Linked DNA regions of Homo sapiens: regions 1 and 3 are each linked to region 2. The links are contacts of gene promoters, found by promoter capture Hi-C in blood cells and fetal thymus (Javierre and others, 2016). All regions are on one chromosome and are shown on one strand. The core of a region is centred on a gene start or on the middle of the fragment in contact, and the rest is flanking DNA. Distances in the headings are between cores, read along the strand shown.

The links. The method cuts DNA at HindIII sites, captures the fragments that hold promoters and counts their contacts. A CHiCAGO score of 5 or more calls a contact.
Region 1: a fragment that was not itself captured here is called in contact with the fragment with the promoter of PLK2 in region 2 in 1 of 17 cell types (total B cells); the score reaches 5.4 in total B cells.
Region 3: a fragment that was not itself captured here is called in contact with the fragment with the promoter of PLK2 in region 2 in 2 of 17 cell types (total B cells and naive B cells); the score reaches 24.2 in total B cells.

Annotation. Positions count from the first base shown.
Region 1 is chr5:56,254,003-56,258,386 of GRCh38, forward strand. No RefSeq gene overlaps it. Among named protein-coding and RNA genes, the nearest start is that of ANKRD55, 23 kb to the left of the region's middle. RefSeq lists an enhancer at 3,617-4,124. The HindIII fragment of the contact is 8,279 bases long and covers 1-4,384 here.
Region 2 is chr5:58,458,836-58,463,300 of GRCh38, forward strand. PLK2 (polo like kinase 2) reads right to left here and starts at 1,251. Exons shown (of 14, transcript NM_006622.4): 1 at 855-1,251; 2 at 150-257; 3 at 1-6. The coding sequence starts at 1,124. RefSeq lists a silencer at 1,569-1,748. The HindIII fragment of the contact is 4,873 bases long and covers 1-2,590 here.
Region 3 is chr5:55,930,549-55,934,810 of GRCh38, forward strand. No RefSeq gene overlaps it. Among named protein-coding and RNA genes, the nearest start is that of IL6ST, 62 kb to the right of the region's middle. The HindIII fragment of the contact is 5,639 bases long and covers 1-4,177 here.

The DNA.
Region 1 (4,384 bases), core at 1,415-3,914, 2.2 Mb before region 2:
AATGGAGAAAGTTTAGTTCAACCCACTGGATAGCAGAGAAGTTCATTGCTGGTATGCTCAGACTGGTGCCGGTCAGCAGTCACTATGAAGCCACTTTTCAGAGTGCAGGTGGGATAACGTCATCAGTAACCAGTGGTATGAACATGCAGGGGTAGGAAAGTGCTTTAGGCTGCAGCGGGGCAGCACAGGGGCCTGCATAGGGTATCCAGGTGTCAGCATGTTCAGAAGGCCTTCGAGATGTTCGTTTCCATGTCAAGAGGGTCACAGAAATGTTATTGGCAGTCTGAGGCTATAAGGATTCTTGAGTTGTCTGAGTTTTCTGGGCCTAAGACTGGTGCAGACGTCTTCATACCCACACTACTGGCTCTCATGCTACAGTCGGAAACCTCAGGAGAGCCTCTTGTCTCCTGCAATGTCCCTGTAGTGCCTTCTTTAAAGGAGAAATGCTTAAAGGAATTCTATTATCTCAGAACATATATTGAAAAGTAAATTTGGAGCAGAGAGGCAATAAATTGATAATTAGTACCATCAGTTACCATTAAAGAAAAAGTATAAAGAATAATTTAAAAATATATTGATAAATATATTATTCTAAGTAATAATGGCAACCATCAAAAGTACTAAAATGATAAATTATTCACAATATTAACATGGAGGAAGTGAATTGAGAGTGAGAATAGAAAGACTTTTACTTTGTATTTTATTTCGTGCCTTTCTATATTATTTTTATTTTTTTGGTAGTTTTTATGAAAGAATGCATTATTTTCAATATCTGCATCCCCAAAGTCAGATAATCAAAAAATTAAACCTATTCACTAGTTAGATAGAAATAGTAAGCAATTTTCCAAATTATTATAAGAAAGAAAGAAGCAACAAAAATCCAGGAAAAATAAGAAACAGCAAAAAGAAACAACTATAAACCAAACAAATAAAAACAAAAACAGAATATCTGAATAAAAATAAACATAATAGTGTTCTCAAATAATGTAAATGGATTAAATTCCCCTATTAAGTATAAAAACTCCCAGAATGATTTTTAAAAAGCAAAATACAAATATATGATATTTTAGAAAACATGCTTAGAACAAAAGGCAGAATGTAATGAGAAAATTAGGCTAAAACCAAAGTGAGACAGAATGTAAGCTACCACAACTTTACAAGGTATGTGCCATCATTGTCCTCCATATCTGGTGAGGAAACTAAGACACAGCTACTGCGGCAGAACAGTGATTAAAACCCAGGTTTTCTGGCTCCTGAACCTGTGCTTGTAGCCATTATGCTAGATTGCAAAAATGGTCACAATTCTCAACCCCTGCAGCCTTATTTTTCCAGTTTCTTTGTAAGAAAGCAATTGCAAAACCACAGCTTTGAATATGAGAATGTGAATTCAGATGGATTTCAACAATTGTGAGCAGCCCTGTTTAATTCCAAGAGTAAGGTTTCTGTTATGACTTTTCACTTTTTGCACTAGGCTGGCAAGAGTGACTTAAATAACTGCAATAGAGAATCAAAATCCGTTCACTGCAAGATGAAAAACCTTAGCAGAAACCCCATTCCCCAAATTAAACAAGGCTGTTTATAATAATTGACACTTATTCTAATTCACTTTCTGGTATTCAGAGCTGTGGCTTTGTAATTGCTTTTTCAAGGGGAGATATTGGCATTTCTAGACTACAAAGCAGCACATGGTATCAAGATGTGTTTTGTTTCTCATGAATAATGATGCTGAACACCTTTCTCATTTGCATATTGATCATTTTCATATCCTCTTTTGTGGAGTGCTTGTTCAGGATTCTGGCTCAACATTAAAAATTGTGTTGTATATCTTTTTCTTATCAATTTATAGAACTTTTATACAAGAATATAGTCTAGATATAAATTCTTTGCCATATGTGTGTGTGCATGCAAATGTCTGAATAACAAATATTTTATACCAGTCTGAGGTTTGCTTTTTCCATTCTCTTAACCATGTCATTCATTGAACAGAATTTCTTTATTTTAATTAAATCCAATTTATCAGTATTTCCATGTGTTCTGTCTAAGAAACTATGGCCTAACCTGAGGTCCCTGAACATATTTACTGTGTTTTCTTCTAGAATTTTTATTGTTTTACTTTTCGTCTTTAGATATATGATCTACCTTGAATTAATTTTTGTGTATAATGTGAGGTAAGGGACAAGAGTCTTTTTTTCCCATATGAATATACACTTGAACCACCACCATTTATTGAAAAGATAATTCTTTCTCCACTGAGTTTCTGTGATGCCTTTATCATAAATCAGATTTATCATAAATCCTATGGATGTGGGTCTGTTTCTGAAGTCTAATTTATTCCATGATCTGTTGTCTTTTCTTGTTCCAGTACCATACTGTTTTAATTTCTCTAGCTTTGATATCAGGTTTTGTCTTTTTTCTTCAGTATTGCCTTAGCTATTCAGAGTTCTTTTTATTTCCATATCAATTTTACAAATAGCTTATCAATTTCTACCAAAAAAATTGATAGCATTTTTATTGGGATTGCATTGAATTTATATATCCATTTGGAATGACTTGATATCTTAAGACTGTTGCATCTTTGAATTCCATGTTCATGATATTACCTGTCATTTACTTAGATCTTCTTTTACTTCTCTCAGCAACTATCTGTAGTTTTCATCGTAGAGATCTTATACAACTTCTATCAGATTTATTCTACATAATTGATGTTTTTGGTGCTTTAAAAATTTTACCAATTGTTTGTCTCTTTTTAAAAATAGATTCATTTCCCCAATGAAATTCTCCAACCTTTCTTCCATTTTGTCTATCATTTTCTCCATTCTCTTGACCATATTAATCACAGTTATTTTAAACTCCCTGTCAGTTATTGTTAACATCTGATTCACCTATAAATCTATTTACTTTAAATAAATTTCTACTTGGATTTCCATAATTTGGTTCAAAGCCTGGACGGTTCAAAGCCTGGAACATTCGCCAAGGTTTTTCTATTTTGGAAAGGTTTTAATTATGACCTTTGCCTCCCTAGTACTGAAATCTCTGATCAGATCTTCAGCTATCCTCCTTCCCTCCCTCCCTGCCTCCCTTCCTTCATTCCTTCCTTCCTGTCTCCCTCCTTCCCTTCCTTCTCTCTTTCTTTCTTTCTCTTTCTTTCTTTATCTTTCTTTCTTTCTTTCTCTTTCTTTCTTCTTTCTTTCCTTTCTTTTCTCTTTCTCTCCTTTCTTTCTTTTCTCTCTCTCCTCCCCTCCCTCTCTCCCTCCCTTCTTTCCTTCCTTCTTTTCCTCTCTCCCTCCTCCCTCCCTTCCTCCCCCCTCTCTTTCTTTGTGTCTTTCTCTCCTTCTATTTCTTTATTTCTTGTTTCATATTTTGTGTGCCAGCTTAGGAACCCATAAACTTTAGGGAAATAAGTTTGCAGAATTGTAGGCACCTTTGTTGTTTCCCTTCTTCAGGACTTTCCTAAGTCCTGCCTGCTTTGGCAGCTCCAAATTCTTACTTCTACTTTCTCAGCCCACTAAGACTGTTGTATTTGTATATCCCTATTCTGCAGTGTGTACATGTCCTCAAGAGAATATCTGGAATGTATGTGGACCTCATGCCATAGGGTTTTCTTTAAATCTCGCTTGTGCTTGGTGTCTCCAGTGCCTTCAGGCAATTGCTTTATGTATTTTGTGCAACGTTTATAATTTTTTTTTAAATTTTTTTAGTATTTATTGATCATTCTTGGGTGTTTCTCGGAGAGGGGGATTTGGCAGGGTCATAGGACAATAGTGGAGGGAAGGTCAGCAGATAAACATGTGAACAAAGGTCTCTGGTTTTCCTAGGCAGAGGGCCCTGCCGCCTTCCGCAGTGTTTGTGTCCCTGGGTACTTGAGATTAGGGAGTGGTGATGACTCTTAACGAGCATGCTGCCTTCAAGCATCTGTTTAACAAAGCACATCTTGCACGGACCTTAATCCATTTAACCCTTAGTGGACATAGCACATGTTTCAGAGAGCACGGGGTTGGGGGTAAGGTTATAGATTAACAGCATCCCAAGGCAGAAGAATTTTTCTTAGTACAGAACAAAATGGAGTCTCCTATGTCTACTTCTTTCCACGCAGACACAGTAACAATCCGATCTCTCTTTCTTTTCCCCACACTTCCCCCCTTTCTATTTGACAAAACCGCCATCGTCATCATGGCCCGTTCTCAATGTGCTGTTGGGTAAACCTCCCAGACGGGGTGGCTGCCGGGCAGAGGGGCTCCTCACTTCCCAGACGGGGCGGCCGGGCAGAGGTGCTCCCCACATCCCAGACGATGGGCGGCCGGGCAGAAACGCTCCTCACTTCCTAGACGGGATGACGGCCGGGAAAAGGTGCTCCTCACTTCCCAGACTGGACGGCCAGGCAGAG
Region 2 (4,465 bases), core at 1-2,500:
GTCAATCTAAATGAAAAAGCAAGGTAAGGCTTATTAGCTTCCAGTCACCTCGGAAAAGCCAGTGATTACACATGCAGAAGACATTTTCCTAACAGGGAAGGGCCATCCTTGCACACAAAGAAAATACTTTACTCAAGAGTCATACGCACCTTTTCCCTTTGATGAGGTTTAGCTACTCTGCTGTGAGGAATAATTTTTGCGGCGTAGACTTTGTTATTTGTCAAATCTGTCATCTCGTAACATTTTGCAAAGCCACCCTGAAAGGAAACAAAGCCGAGACGGAATTGAGGATGGCACAAAAATGGACGGCAGATATTTTAAATAAATAAATAAATGGGAAGAAAGAAAAGCAAAAAAAAAAAAATTGAGGAATGGAGGAGGGTGGACAGAGGGAGGCATTCGACTTCGTTAAAGCTCCCTCATGAAGAGAAATGCATTGCTGGAAACAGCAAGTTCAAACAGTTTCTCTTCTTCTTTTATAAAGGGGAGCTTTATGGAGGGAGTTGGAACGGGGAGACATGAAAAATAATCTCTGATGAGACTTGTCAGGAAAATTCCCTGGGAGCAGATAGAGGGAGAGAGGTCTGATGTAGAAAGCCCTCGCTTCCAGACTCAAGATGCATTTCTCTGGGCTGCGGGAGACACACAGTTCTGAGGCTAAGAATGCAAAGCCGATCCCCAGCGCTGCCGGCGCACAAAAGCCAGAGGGCAGGTGAGGAGCCCACCTCGCGCTGGGATCGGACCCCCGAAAAACCCGGAAGCGGCGGGCGAGGGACCCCGCGGGCTTGCCCGGCTTGGGGTCGCCCGGACAGACCTCCCGCCCGCCCGGCAGCCCGGCGCCCTCCGCTTGTCACCTTTCCCAGCACTTTGCCCCGGCAGTAGCGCTTCCCAGTCGTGGGGTCGACGATAATCCGCGAGATCTCCGGCCCCGAGTGCGAATGGTGGTGATGGTGGTGAGGGGCCGCCGGGGGCACTTGCGCCTGGGACTGAGGTGGCTGCGATTCCTCGGGGGGCTGCGGCGGCCGCTTCTTCTTCGAGTCCGCTCCGCAACCCTTGCCCAGCGCCTGCTCGCACATTTTGGTGCTGGCGGCTGGCTGGTAGGTGATAGTCCGCAAAAGCTCCATGGTCGCCTTGCCGCCCCGCACTGCCCGCTGCCACCCCCTAGGCGCGGTCACACGTCCGAGCCGGCCGTGGTCCTCGCACCCTTGCCTCTGGTGCCGACTAGCACCCAACACCCCGGTCCACTTGTGCGAGTGAGAGCGCTCGGCGAAGTCTTATATACGGGGAGGCGGGAAGGGGGCGGAGACTCGATACGCGACATCACGTCACGGCCTATGCCCCGCCCCACGGCCGGCCGAGCGCGCGTGGCCGGGAAGCAAGTCTTGTCCCGCCACCCGGGTCTCGCTTCCCAGCGGAGCCGCGCGCCTCAAACGCCGGCCGCCGAGATCTCTTGCGGCCGCGGGAAGGCCTTCAGAGCCGTCCGTGGGCCCCGCTGTCCCGTTCTTCGAAGGCTCCGAGCCTCAGCGTACAAAACAGAATCGCGAGGGCCGACGCCTGGCCTCACCCCCGCCCCAGCCGCCTGGTGGCAGGGCAGTGCCGTGACCCGAGCGAGTCGGGCGCGGGTGTAGACGCAGTCCCTCCCCCGCACAGCCCTTCCCGGCCGCCCGGGGCCTCCTGTGTCAAGGTATCAGGGTGCCCGGAGCCCGCCGCACGGGCAGGCGAGGCCTCCTCCGGCCGTATGACAGGGCTCGTCTGCAGCTGCCCCGCAGTGCCTGCCCGCGCTGTGACGAGCTCGCTGGTGTCTAGCTGGGGCAGTGCCGAGAGGCCGTGGGGGTGAAAGGCCGGGATTCGTGGAGCCGGGCATTCGAGCCCATCGCGCTAGGGCAGACACGGGCCCGCAGCCGGGATCCCGGGCCGATCGGCCAACCGTGCCAGGATCCCACTCGAGGCCCGTCTGGCCCCCGCCCATGCCCCTAGAGCGAGCCTCTGTCTGAGGTCGGCCCCTGAACCTTGCAGAGCGAGGTCGGCGTCCTGGCAAGGCGTCCTCCGCCCGTAGCCCGAAGATTGGAAAGCAAGGGCGCCATCTTGTGGAATGTTCCGGAATGCCGTTAGGTGTCGAAGTGGGCAGCGGTTGACAACCGTGGGCCTTTGACAGTTACTAGTACTAAACATCGATGCCGATTGTGAGTTTCCAATCAGAGTCATCTATGACTTCTTCCGAATGCATCTGTTGAGATGGCTCATGAGCTGCCCTGGTTCCTGGAGAGTCAATCTGAGACTTTCTGGGGTAGGGAGATTGGTAGGATGAAGAGAGGAGCGTAGGCCAGTGAGTGCAAACACAGCTTAGTTTCCCATTTCCAGATTTTGCTGTGCAGTTTGACTAATCTAGGAACACGTTTTTTTGTTTGTTTTTCTTGTTCTAATTACGATAGAGTAACATTTATTGAGGACTGTGCAGTATTTTTAAATGCCTTATTTCATCCTACAACAATTCTGAGAGAAATATTGTAAGGAAGGAAAAATAATTTTCCACCTTTCAAAGTTTTGGCCTGGGTCGCTGTAACCAGACAGATTAACAAGAAAACAAAGAAGCTTATTAACATATACGTCTCATATATACATGGGAGATAACCAGGAAAATTAGAGATGGTTTAAAATCGGGCTTAAATACTATCTTTAGCTAAACCAAAAGAAAAGAGTGGGGCAGGCAAGTTAAGGAATCATGACCAGGAAATGTACGGTAAACAGGAGTGGGGTTTCTTATTTCTTCATTGATAAGTTTTTCATGATTTAGAGTCATTCTTCCTGGTACAGAGGAGACACTTTTACAAATGGAGTTTTGTGGGGTTTTTTTGTTTTTTGTTTTTGTTGTTTTTTTTTTTAGTGAATGTACGTTTCCCTTACGAAAGGGTAATATGCCATTTTTAGAGCATTTCCTGGGTCTGCTGGTTCTCAAAATAATTATCTTAAAATAATCTTTATCCCAGGGCCATATTTGGGGTGGCATATTCTCATCTCCTACATTATTATTCCCATTTTATAGATGAGGCTTGGAGAACTTAGGTAATTATTGTATATTTTTACTAGATCATCGAGGTTAGGTTAATTAGCAGCACACTTGAATCTTTTTACCTATGTTAACAGGATATGGTAAATAGTTTTTTGAAGCTAAATTCCAGAGAAATTTAGAATACCAGATTATTGAATCCCTGGAAGGTACATACAAAAAGTTGCTGCAGTCCACTGTCAAATTTAGGTATGTGTGGTATCAACATTAATCGAACATTTACAAAAATACTGTGTCTCAAATACTTCCAGCATAATGTGGAAAAGAGGCTTATTGCCATTAGAGAGGAGAAAGGGAAAGGCTTTGCCATTAGCGAGGAGAAAGGGAAAGTCTTTGCTGTCACTTCCGTTTTTGATTCTTTAAAGAGTGCAGGGCAAGTCCAGGCATGTTTCTCATAAGTGACAATAGACTTTAACCCCAAGATTGTCAGGGATGGAATAAGGGGTGGGGCTTAGGGGTGGAAATTCAGAATTACGTAATTATCCTCTTTATTCATAAGCCCAGGGGTGACCTTTGCTTCCCAGATTTGTGCAAACCTACTCTCTAAGATGTAGAAGGCTTGCAGGTTTAGAAAATATTACTAGAATTTATCAAAGCTAGTTTACACACCATGTCTTTATGGTTGATAATAAACTGTATATGTATACATATGTGTGTATGTGTATGTGTATTCATTTGTGGCCTAAGATAAAAAACTGAAGAATAGATTGTCATGATTTTTTTTTAAATGTCAATTTCTTCTTTGATTAGCATACACTATGGTATGTATCTTTACCAAATGGACTTCAGTATTTGATAAACTGTTGAACATTCCATGTGAAATTCAGGTCTGTCTGCCACAACATGGAGGCATTTAATAAAATATTAACGCTGTGTAAATCTTATGTTGTCTTCTTTCCGACTGAGAACATGATTTTTTTGGGGTTGTGGTGCCATCATGTGGACAGAACCAAAATTGTAGTCTATAGAACAAAAAAGGAAATAAATGCGCTTTCTATTAAGTAGACTAATTACTAAATATCATGGAGTCAATTTGGTAACCAGTAGGAAGGAAAAAATGGATCCATGCTTCATATCTGGCTTATTTTCAAGCAAATGAAAGTTTGAAATACGTGAAATTTTAAGACAATATGAAAGAATTCTTTCATAGCCTGAATGTGGTAGAACTTTCAACTATTTACAAAATCTAGAATCCCTAAAAAAAAAAAAAAAGCAAGATTCATTAATGTAACTATATAGAAACAAAACCCTTTCATTGATTTAAAATAACAAAACACCACAAATAAAGTCAAAGGATAAATAACACTGGAAAAATTATTTTCAACTCATCACAGAGAAAGAGCTTATCTTCCTGTTATATAAAAACTCCTACAATTGGATAAAATACCAATTATCCAA
Region 3 (4,262 bases), core at 108-2,607, 2.5 Mb before region 2:
CAACTGTAATCTCAGCACTTTGGGAGGCCAAGGCAGGAGCATCACTTGAGGCCAGGATGTTGAGGCTAGCCTGGGCAACATAGTGACACTCCATCCCTACAAAACTTTTTTTAAAAAATTAGCCAGGTCTGGTGGCACACGTCTGTCATCCCAGTTGCTTTGGGGGCTGAGGCAGGAGGATTGCTCCAGCCCATGAATTCGAGGTTGCAGTTACCTAAGAGCGCATAACTGCACTCCAGCCTGGGCCACAGCATGAGATTGTGTTTCAAAAACACGGTGGTGATTAGACGTCTCTTTTGAACCTGCCTCAAGGTCAGAGGTGTATGATTAGGTGCCACCTTGGGCATTCCTTTCTGTCCTGGGAGTAGAAAAAGTGTAAGATTACCTCCCCACGAGCACTTGAGCATGGGTTGTAGATAAATCCATCTGTGTCCCTGCTGGGGCTGATGGAGATATGAGGACTGAGGGGTCCTCCTTGCTTGAAGTCACATCTTTGGCAAAGGGCTGGAAAGAGGGCAGGGAATATCTAGATGTTGCTCAGAGGGGTCAACAAAAATTCTTCCGGCCAGTCCTGAAATACAAGTCTCATTGTAACAATAAGAATTATAGTTTAGTCTGACCCAGAGAACTGAGGCAACATTGATTTGAAAACAGTTTGTGCACACTGCTGGCTCTCCTGGTCACCAGCTCATGCCTGCACGACAAAATTCTACAGAAGATGCTTTTCCTCCAGGAAGGCATCCCGATGAGCACAGCTTTTTGCCCGAACATAAAATGTTTTCTGAAAAATCTTTCCCCAAAAAAGAGGGAGTGCTTTAGTAAAGTACTTACAAAGTTTCTCATATCACAGTTTCTCTCTTCTTATTTATTTATTTATTATTTTTCTGAGACAGATTCTCGCCCTGTCACCCAGGCTGGAGTGCAGTGGCATGACCTTGGCTCACTGCAGCCTCCGCCTCCCGGGTTCAAGTGATTCTCCTGCCTCAGGCACCCAAGTAGCTGGGATTACAGGTGCCGCACCACCACGCCAGGCTAATTCTTGTATTTTTAGTAGAGACGGGGTTTCACCATGTTGGCCAGGCTGGTCTCAAATTCCTGACCTCAAGTGATCTGCCCACTTTGGCCTCCGAAAGTGCTGGGATTACAGGCGTGAGCCTCTGTGCTTGGCCTCTCTTCGTTATTTAAACACAAAAGTTCTGTTTGCGAAAGACCCATTCACTAAAATGACCTCATCCAATGTTAATTTTTAATTTTGAGAATCACACGGAGATCACCAGAAGGAACTGGCATAAAAGGAGACAAGGGATTTAGTCATTATTCCTGGGATATGATCTCAATATTAACTAGGTTAGATTTCAGTGTAAAGTTTTTTAAAGACCATTTTAAAAAGCAAAATGGTAACAGGTTACATTACTGGGATGGGGGGAAAGTCTCTTAAGATAAAAGTGGATACTTAAGGCTTGAATACTGTTTTCCACGACAGCATTGTCTGCTGTCTCTCACACAACTAGATGGAAATGTTAGGAACGAGCTCCCAAAACCTGTGCCTATGATTCACAAAGGGGATCTGGTAATGACGAGGAAGGACCTCAGTGTCCAATTGCAAGTGAAGAGTTGCATGGAACTATCTTCATAAAGTACGAGTGAACAAAATCAATTCTATATTTCTGCATTGTTCCACATCATCTTATTTAAAATATGGATCATAGGCAGACATCTGACTATTTAATCAACATCTGTAAAGCTCACACAGTTAAGCTGTCCAAAAACTTTTCTTGGGATCTTCTCGTTGAGGAATTGGGGGATTGTTTTATACTGGGAGCTGCCTGGTGTTTGGCCAGGGGTTGGTCGTAGCCTGGTTTGTAGGGCCTGAGCCTACTTGCACTTTCTGATGTGTTCTTAAGGCGGAGCCTGATCCTGGTTCACTCCGTCTTCCTCACTAGACAGTAACTTCCCAAAGGGCAGGGCCGTCCTTTTATAACCCACAAACCCAGCGTTTTCTCCTGTGCTGTTGGAAAGTTTGCTGGCCCCTCTTCTCTGGACCTCATTTTCCTCGTCCAGGATGAGGAGTTTGGATAAAATGATTTAATAAGGATCCATCTGACTTTAATTTTCTCTAAATTTTTGCTTTTGGATTGAGTATATATTTTGCTTCAAATGAAAGCTCTTGCCAAGGCACGGTGGTTCAGAGATGTAATCACAGCACTTTGGAAGGCCAAGGATGGAAGATAGCTTGAAGCCAGGCATTTGAGACCAGCCTGGCCAACAAAGTGAGCCCGTGTCTACAAAAAAGAAAAAAGAAAAATTAGCCGGGCATGGCAGTGCTGCCTGTAGTCTGAGCTACTTGAGAGGCTGAGGTGGGAGGATTGCTTGAGCCTGGGCAACAGAGCAAGACTCTCTCTCTCTTGGTTGGGGGAAGCTCTTGCCTGTAGCCAGGGTGGGATGGGAATCAGGAAATGATCCCAGGTTTGAGATGCGAAGGAGGCAGATTCCTGACTGCCTATGGCACTGTGCAACTCTGGATTAGAAGAAACCTGAGACACATTTTAAACATTTTTTAAAATTAAAAATAACTTGTTTATTCACCCACTTACCTGTTCATATAAGCAAGCTCTGCCAAACACCGAGCACTATGCTGGGCCAGGAGAGGACTGAGCTGGGGCCCTCTCTCCAGAGGCCCAGCAGTAGGTGCCAGGATATAGAAGGCCCTTAACTCAGGGGGAAGGAGAGAGAAGAATGGAAGATTTCCCTCAAGAGGGTATCTATTTGAGTTGATTTTTGGTGAACCAGTAAGAATTTCCCAGCTTAACAGGGACTGGGGACTGGAGAACATTCTAGGGGAGGAAATCATGTGCATGGGCTAGGTTAGAAGAAACTCAGTATGTTCTGGAAACTATAAAGTGTGCAGCTGGGGGGTTGGAAAGGTCCAGCGAGGCCCCAAAAGGACAGAAAGCAAATGTGGGGAATGAGGTCAGCACAGCGGGGCAGCAGCAGGCAGCCCCTCTGGGAGTGGCAGGAGATGGAGAGGAGTGGCTGGCGGCACCGTGAAGGTGAGGCAGGCTGGAACGGGTGCTCGCGCTAGGCAGCGGGCCCGGGGAAGTCTGTGGACAGAACCACCTGGGGTAGGACCGTGGTCTGAGCACCCAGGAAAAGCCCCTGCCGGAGATCCTCCTGTCACTAGTTGCCATGGGCTAGATTCCACCATTAGAGGAGTCTTTCTTTGGCCAAAAGAATGAGACTCCAGGGGTCGTGTGAGGGTGCATTCTCAGGAAAGTGGGACACATTGACCTCTTTTGCAGGGGTTGCTCTATAGGGTCAGAGCAAATGTATGTGCTAGTAGGGGTGGGGAGCCAGCCTCGGAGTAAACCTTGAGGGCATAAGGAGAAGTACTGCTCTGGGCTCGAGGCTCAGTTAGGACACTTCAAGGTAGGCAATTGCAGGGGGCTGCTTGAGGGCACAAGGTGCCCCATATTCACAAATAAGGGTGGTGGGGAGGGAGATGAGGGGAAGAGAAACTCAGAAGAGTTTGAAGGGCCTGGGAAGCAGGTGTGCATTCTCCTTAAGCTAGCCTGGGCATGACGTCATCAAGAATTTTGCTTAAGTGGTTGGGTACAATTGGTGTACACATCAAAGAATGCGGACTTTGGATCAGGTTGGAGTTGGAACTCCACTGTTTGTCAACCACATGACCCCGGGCAAGTTATTCAACCTCTTGGAGGCTGCATTTGTAAATGGTGCTGGTATTTACCTCATAAGTTTCTAGGATTTCATAACCCACAGTAAACACTTCATAGATGGCATATATTTGCTCACCTTTGGACACCCTGCTCCGGCATGTGGCCCCCAGCAGGTGATCAGAAAGGTCTGCCGGTTCATTTGAAGAGGAGCGGCCCCTCACCCCCAGCAGCAATGTCTAGTCTCGATTCTGACCGTGGCAGTTAAAAGTTTCTTGGAGGTCCTTTCCTAGGCACTGATGCTGGCTGGGTAGCCCTGGTGTTCGTATGTCTAGATTGAACAACTGGCAAAATCCACACTGACTTTGACCTGAAGAGTGGCTGACTTTTCATTCTCAGAACGCTTATGCAGAATTATGGTTTCTATTGTCAGAATCTCAGTGCCTTTTTATTTAAATATTCCCCTTCATGCCATTCCTTTAAAAGCATTATCCCTCTCATAAAGCTTATAGAGCCTATTTCCAAGAATTTTCTATAAATTCATTTAAAAGCTATCATTAGTCAACAGGCTGCTTCTGACTACAGGCA